Linked DNA regions of Homo sapiens: region 2 is linked to region 1. Evidence: promoter capture Hi-C in human tissues and cell types (Jung and others, 2019). All regions are on one chromosome and are shown on one strand. The core of a region is centred on a gene start or on the middle of the fragment in contact, and the rest is flanking DNA. Distances in the headings are between cores, read along the strand shown.

Region 1 (3,947 bases), core at 1,132-3,631:
AACCCTCCTGGTCTCAAGTGATCTGCCCGCCTTGGCCTACCAAGTAGCTAGGATTACAGACCTGAATCAAGGTAGTGGCCCTGACTACCCTAGTTTATGTTGTCAGGAGCTTCTAAGTCTGTGTCACAGGCATGTCCATAACCTTGGCAAAATAAGCTTTCTAAATTTATTGAGACTTATCTGAGATACCTTTTGGTTTACATGATGCTCACAGATGCTGTGGTTCAGTTTGGACAGGGGAGACTTAGGCTAGAGGGTGACTAAAAAATGGCAGGGTCCTGAGTCATCTGGAGGTGTCTTCACTCAGAGGTCTTGCAACTGACGCCAGCTGTTGCTGGGGCTGTGGACCAGGGTAGCTACACAGGCCTCTCCGTGTGGTTCGGGTTTCCTTCCAGCATGGTGGTCTTGGGGTAGTCAGACTTCTTAGACAGCCACCCAGCCCTCTAAAAGTGAACAAGGAAGAAGTTGCATCTCTTCTGACCCAGCCTTGAGTGTCATGCTGTGTCACTTCTGCCACCAGATTCAAGGAAAGGGGGCACAGATTATACCTCTCTACATGGGAGGCATGTCAAGGTGACATTGTACAAGTGGATGTAGGGTGGGAGATATTGTGGCCATCTGGGAAAATATAACCTGTCTTAGCCCTACATTTCATTCTCCATATATTACCCACAGTGGACTTAAAACTGAAATCAGATTGTGGCACCATCCTGCTGAATAGTGTTCCTATGACTGCTCACCTCACCTAGAATAAAATTCAGATTCCCAGCATGGTCTCACAAGACTTCCAGCCTCATCTCTTTGGCTGTCCCATTCACTCACCATGGCCTCCTTTCTGGTTCTCCTTCATATCAAGCTATTTCTGCCTCAGGTCCTTTGCACACATGGTTCCTTCTGCCTGGGAAGCCCTGGTTCTTCTGAGGCCACCTCTCTCTCATCCTTTAGGTCCAATGGCACCTTCTAGGGAGACCCTTTCTGTCCACCACCTCTGTCTAGTCAGTATCACATTACTCAGTTTCCTTTCTTCTAACACTTGCCACAACTTGAATTTAACAGTCCCAGTGGTTTGTTCTAGTTTATCTGCCTCCTCGTCCAGACTGGGTCTCCACCAAGTGATCAAGTGATGCTTGTCTATGTTGTTCACTGCTGAATATTCAGGTAGGAGATCAGGTGTCAGGTGATGGAGGTCTGTATAGGAGGGGGTGTCCAAGAGGCCTGGACGAGGAGGCTGTGTGTGTTTGGTTTTAATGTGTCTTTGTGTGGTTCTCTGTGTTTATTGTACTTGGAGTTTGTTGAGCTTTGTGGATATGTAGATTCATGTCTTTCATCAATTCTGGGCTTCTGGGAAGTTTTTTGGCCATTATTTCATCAAATATTATTATTATTATTTTTTGAGATGGAGTCTCACTCTGTTGCCCAGGCTGGAGTGCAGAGGCATGGTCTTGGCTCACTGCAACCTCTGCTTTCTGGGTTCAAGTGATTCTCCTGCCTCAACCTCTCAAGTAGGTGGGGTTACAGGTGCCTGTCACCATGCCCAGCTAATTTTTGTATTTTTAGTAGAGATGGGTTTTCGTCATGTTGGCCAGGCCGGTCTCAAATTTCTGACCTTAAGTGATCTGCCCACCTTGGCCTCCCAAAGTGCTGGGATTATAGGCATGAACCACCATACCCAGCCTCATCAAATATTCTTTCTGCTCCTTTCACTTCTCTCCTTCTGGGACTCTCATTATGCATATATTGGTATACTCATTATACAACTGTTGATATACAGTTCTCCTAGGTGCTGTTCACTTTTCTTGGATATGTGTGTTTGGGGGGCATCAGTCTGTAAAAGGGTGGAGTGCACCCTCCTCCCTATGAGATCCCTGCGCAGATGTCTTTGAGGCAGCTATTGACAATGGGGAAAGAAGTCAGGGGTCAAGACAATACCTGTTTACAAGTTGAGGGTAGAGGCTGCAGGACTAAGGTCCCAATGGGGTATTTCAGAGTCTCAGAGGAGCTGGGGTCTGACATGGGAGTGAGAGCAACCCTTAGCCCCACCCATATGACACCCACATACCACATAAATATTTATTATTATTATTTTGTGTAAATCTTTTTGAGTTTTTGTACTTTTCCTGTTGTCTTTATTTGCCTGCATGTAGCCTATTTAATTCACCATTGGCTCTGATTCTTTCTTAGCAATCAGAAATTTCCATAAGTGAGAACAGATTATCTGCAAATTGTATGTAATGAAATGGTTATGAATTCTAAGTTTCATAATGATGTTTGTATGCTTATTCCTGTGGATTTTGCTAGTTGCTGTACAGATTTTAGAGCCTGTATGCGTACATTTTCTTTTCTTTTCTTTTATAGAGACATAGTCTTGCTTTGTTGCCCAGGCTGGAGTGCAGTGGCACGATCTTGGCTTACTGCAACCTGTGACTCCCTGGTTTAAGCGATGCTGCTGCCTCAGCCTCCTGAGTAGCTGGGATTACAGGCACACACCACCACGTGCAGCTAATTTTTATATTTTTAGTAGAGATGGGGTTTCACCATGTTGGCCAGGATGGTCTCGATTTCCTGACCTTGTGATCCATCCACCTTGGCCTCCCAAAGAGCTGAGATTACAGGGGTCAGCCACCGTGCCTGGCCCATTTTCTTTTCTTTTAAAAAAATTTATTTTCATGGCCGGGCACTGTGGCTCATGCCTGTAATCCCAGCACTTTGGGAGGCTGAGGCGGGTGGATCACGAGGTCAGGAGTTCAAGACTAGCCTGGCCAAGATGGTGAAACCCCGTTTCTACTAAAAATATAAAAATTAGCTAGGCATGGTGGCAGGCACCTGTAATCCCAGCTACTCGGGAGGCTGAGGCAGGGGAATCGCTTGAACCCAGAGGGTAGAGGTTGGAGTGAGCCAAGATCGTGCCACTGCACTCCAGCCTGGGTGACTAAGACTCTGTCTCAAATTTTTTAAAAATTATTTTCATGTTATTTTTATTTACTTTATTATTATTATTTTATTTATTTTTCTTGCTCTGTTGCTCAGGCTGTAGTGCAGTGGCACTACCACAACTCACTGCACCCTCAACCTCCTAGGCTCAAGTGATGTTCCTGCCTCAGCCTCCCAAGCAACTGGAACTACAGGCATGTGCCACCATGCCACAGGCTGATTTTTCTATTTTTTTGTGGAGATAGGGTCTCATCATGTTGCCTAGACTGTTCTCAAACTTCTGGGCTCAAGTGATCTTCCCACTTTGGCCCCCCAAGTGGCTGGGATTACAGGTGTGAGCCACCGTGCTTGGCCTTATTATTTTTAGAGACATAATCTCCCTCTGTCACCCAAGCTGGTGTGCATTGGTGTGATCATAGCTCACTGCAGACTTGAACTTCTGGGTTCAAGCAATCCTCTTGCCTCAGCCTCCTGAGTGGCTAGGCCTATAGGCATGCACTGCCATACCCAGCTAGCTTTTAAATTTTTTTTGTAGAGACAGGATCTTGCTATGTTGCCCAGGCTGGTCTCAAACTCCTGACCTCAAGCGATCCTTCTTCCTTGGCCTCTCAAAGTGCTGGGATTACAGGTGTGAGCCACTGCACCTGGCCACGTGTGTGTTTTCTTTCCCCTAAATGTTCTCATTGGCTGCAGGTCTGATGTGCTGTGCTTTTGGTACCTGGTGGATTAACCAGCCCCAGACACATATAGACCAATTAGTTGAAAGACCAAAAGACCATTTCCTGTCAGTTTTGGGCAGAGCTCAGCACCTCTGTGGTAGTCAAGGGGAATTGATGGATAAATACCCCAGCTCCCTCACCCTTGTGTTGGATGATTGAGGTTCATGTTCTACACTGACCCCTAGTGTTCACCCACGGGATTGAGCTCCAGCTGTCCACTGTAGAAACCTGGTTATCAATACACTCTTTGCTGACTTCCTTCCCTTCCCTCTCCCACATATCCACCCCACTTACAGT
Region 2 (3,511 bases), core at 809-3,308, 410 kb before region 1:
CCACCATCCCAAGTGTGGCCACACCTGGACATGAGCCTCAGAAAAGATTCTATAAAGGTCTGCCTCTTTGCTGTGCGACCTCGGGTGAGTGTCTGCACCTCTCTGAGCCTCAATTTCTTCATCCATTAAGACAGAAGCCCTATTTACCCACCTCATGGGGCTGCAATCTTCCAGGCACATAGTAAGCCTTTGATCAATGATATCTCTCATTACCGTTGGTGCTGCCATCACGTTCATTATTGTGACCTGGCCATCTGGGGTTTGGAGAATCAGGTCCAAGTTTTATCAACAAGGAGAGATGAGTCAGGCGCAGTGGCTCATGCCTGTAATCCCAGCACTTTGGGAGGCTGAGGCGGGTGGATCACTTGAGCCCAAGAGTTCAAGACCAGCCTGGGCAACATGGTGAAACCCCATCCCTACCAAAAATACAAAAAGTAGACAGGAGTGGTGGTGCATGCCTGTAGTCCTCCATACTCAGGAGGCTGAGGTAGGAGGATTGCTTGAACCCAGGAGATCGAGGCTGCAGTGAGCTATGATTATGCCACTGCACTCCTGCCTGGGTGACAAAGTGAGACCCTGTCTCAACAACAACAACAAAAAAAGAAAGAAAGAAAGAAAGAGAGAGAGACAGAGAAAAGAAAGAAAGAAAGAAAGAAAGAAGGAAGGAAAGAAAGAAAGGAAGGAAGGAAGGAAGGAAGGAAGGAAGGAAGGAAGGAAGGAAGGAAGGAGAGATGGGTCCCATTCCCTGAATGCCTCTCAAGTCATCCAAGCCCCTCTGCAGATACCAACCTGGGTCACCGCCAGACACCAGGCCAGAGTTAATGTTACTGTTCAGAAACCCAAGCTGGGCCATTTGGTGATGCCGGGGACATCGGAAAGTGGACTGAGGCTTTGGGGTCAAACAGGGCTTGTTTTTTCAAATCCCAGCTCTCCCACTGGGCACTGGGTATCCACAGGCACAGGCTTCTTCTCTCTGGCCCTCAGTTTCCGTGCCTGTAAAATGAGGGTGGTAGGGAAGATTTGGGGAGGTTCCTTCTCTTTGGGGTTTGGAGTTACACAAGAAGGAGTTTGATGCTGCCAGCCCTGGCTGGGCACAGCTCCAGGACCTAGAAATAAGGGGTGGAGCAAGGGGCACAGGGTAGGAGGAATTTCGGGTACGCAGCCAGCCCTGGCCATCTCCTTTGCCTACAGGGCGGTGAGACTCACAATGAGTGCATGAATGAGCTGTGAGCGGGCAGATGAACCAGGAGAGATGCCCTGAGCCTAGGCCTCTCCAGCCTGCGACTCCCCAGGTGGCCAGCCTCGGCCAACTTGCATACCCAGGCTGGGCCAGGCCCCTGGGAGGCCAGAAAACATCTTCCTTCCAGCATCTATCAGACGAAGATCACCTGGGACCAACCCCAGGACCTCACACAACCCTCAGAGCCAACTCTCGGGGCCAGAAGAACACCGTCTTTTCATAGAGGGGCTCTGCGTCTGGCATGGATGGGCAGAGGGTTCCTGATAGCAGTTGAACCACAAGCCTAACCCCATCGGTTGAATGTACTACAACCTCCCCGTCAAGACAACGTGCAGTGGTGAAATCTCAGGGCGAATCCCCATTCAGCCCCAAAGAGGCGTCCCAGGGCGGGGCTTGAACCCATCTGGGATGTCCTGACTACCAGAGGGGTCTTTTGGAGGCCCCCTGCCCATCACAGATACCCAGAGAAAAGGATGCGCCTAGGACTCCGAGGCGCACACAGAAAAAAAAAAAAAGAAAACAACTCACAAATGCAGCAAACGTCGGGGACACACCCACGTGCCCCTCTCCCCACGAGTGCCCCGGGCATGCAGCCCCGTCCTGGGTCCTGGGGGGGTCCCCGTGGCCGGCTGCGCCCCGCCCGCCGCCGCGCGCAGACCTTCGCCCTTGCCCCGCCAGCACCGAACCGCGCGAGCCTCGGGTTCCAGCGCAGCGCCGCGGCCGCGCTCAGGTTACAGCCCTCACCACGCGCGCACTCACCCGCGGGTCTCAGCCTCCTGCCCTCGATCCGGATCCACCGGCGCCACTACCTGGGATCTGACCGCGCCGTCCCACGGCCCAACCCTTTAACCCCGCCCGGCCGTGCCGAGGGGTCCGCCCCCGGACATCCCGCCCCGGGCTCCCGCAGGGTTCTGGGCGGGGACTCCAGCGCTGCCCCCTAGAAAAGGAGAGAACAAGAAATAGGCGTGTGGAGGGGTGGAGAGCGATGGAAAGAGAGAGAGACTGAGACTGAGATGGAGAGATGAAGAGAGACAGAGACTTGGACACCTAGAAGTCCCAAACCATCAGGCTCCCCGCCCTCCTGCCACTGCTGGGCCGCATTAGCGCCCAAGTCCCGCTCTGGACCACACTCCTCCCACACCAACACCCCCCATGGCCCTTACTTCCAGGTTTGCTCCCAAGCTTGGACAGCGATCTCTAAACCATCACCCCCTGGGGCCCCACTGACCCCCCCGAGAAGCCTCCTCTGGGGCCCTCAGGAATTCTCTGGCTCCACCAGCCCTTGGGAACCAGCCCTTCCCCTCTCTCTGGATCCTGGGCCTAAGCTTCCCCGGCACCCACCCCTGGAGGCTCTGCAGCCTCTTCCTCCAGGAAGACCTCCAACCTCAACAAGCAGCACCAGACTGGTTCTGCTCCCCGCCAACCCGCCCTCCGCCACTCCTCCCCACCCACTGCCAGACACCTTGACCCTCTGACCAGGATGTTGTCCTTGGCCAACCCGTCTACTCCAGATGTGTGGAGACAGAGTCAGCTCCGCCTCTGGATGTGTCTGTCCTCCGGAGTCGGTGGGTGGATGTGTGGCTGACCTTAGCACGTGGGCAGACAGATGAGAAGACAAGAATCTCCACTTGCCCCAGCAGGTGGTAAACTTAGAAGACTTCCTTATCCCTCTTTTTTCTAAGAATACGCTCTCATTTGGTGCTGGGCCCTTGGAAAGAGGGCGTGGGAGGTGTGGGGCATGTCTCCTGGTGAAGAAGAGGAGACACAAGTAATTGAAGTTTTGCTGCTTGGAGGAGGCAGACATGAGGTCAGGGAAGGCGACGTGGAGGATGTGACACTTGAGCTGGGACTGCATGGAGAGGTTGGATTTCAACAAGTGCAGGAGAGGGGGTAGAGCTCAAGCACAGAGAAACTGGAGGGTGTGACTTAGCAGATGGCTTTCCCTGGCCTTGGAGTGTGAGAGGTGTGGAGGCTGGAGGGATGCAGGAGTTGACTGTGAAGGCCAGTTTGAATGGCTGGATCTTGATCTGGTGGGCAGTGGGGAGCCATGGATGGTGCTTGAGTAGGGGAGGTGCCCCCTGTTAGTTGATTGGTCTCACTCTGTCATCCAGGCTGGGGTGACTCCTGGGCTCAAGCCATCCTCCTGCCTCAGCCTCCTGGGTAGTTGGGACTACAGACACGTGCCACCACACCCAGCTAATTTTTTTTTTTCATTTTTTTAGAGACAGGGTCTCACTATGTTGCCCAGGCTGGTCTCAAACTCCTGGGCTC

The links. The method cuts DNA at HindIII sites, captures the fragments that hold promoters and counts their contacts. A contact is called where the count stands out against the background at its distance.
Region 2: a contact is called between the fragment with the promoter of CYP4F22 here and a fragment that was not itself captured in region 1, in 6 of the 25 tissues and cell types used here (aorta, bladder, dorsolateral prefrontal cortex and 3 more).

What each region holds. Positions count from the first base shown.
Region 1 is chr19:15,101,558-15,105,504 of GRCh38, reverse strand. No RefSeq gene overlaps it. Among named protein-coding and RNA genes, the nearest start is that of SYDE1, 3.9 kb to the left of the region's middle. The HindIII fragment of the contact is 6,045 bases long and covers 1-3,947 here.
Region 2 is chr19:15,507,072-15,510,582 of GRCh38, reverse strand. CYP4F22 (cytochrome P450 family 4 subfamily F member 22) reads right to left here and starts at 2,058. Exons shown (of 14, transcript NM_173483.4): 1 at 2,000-2,058. RefSeq lists an enhancer at 1,914-2,414. The HindIII fragment of the contact is 20,579 bases long and covers 1-3,511 here.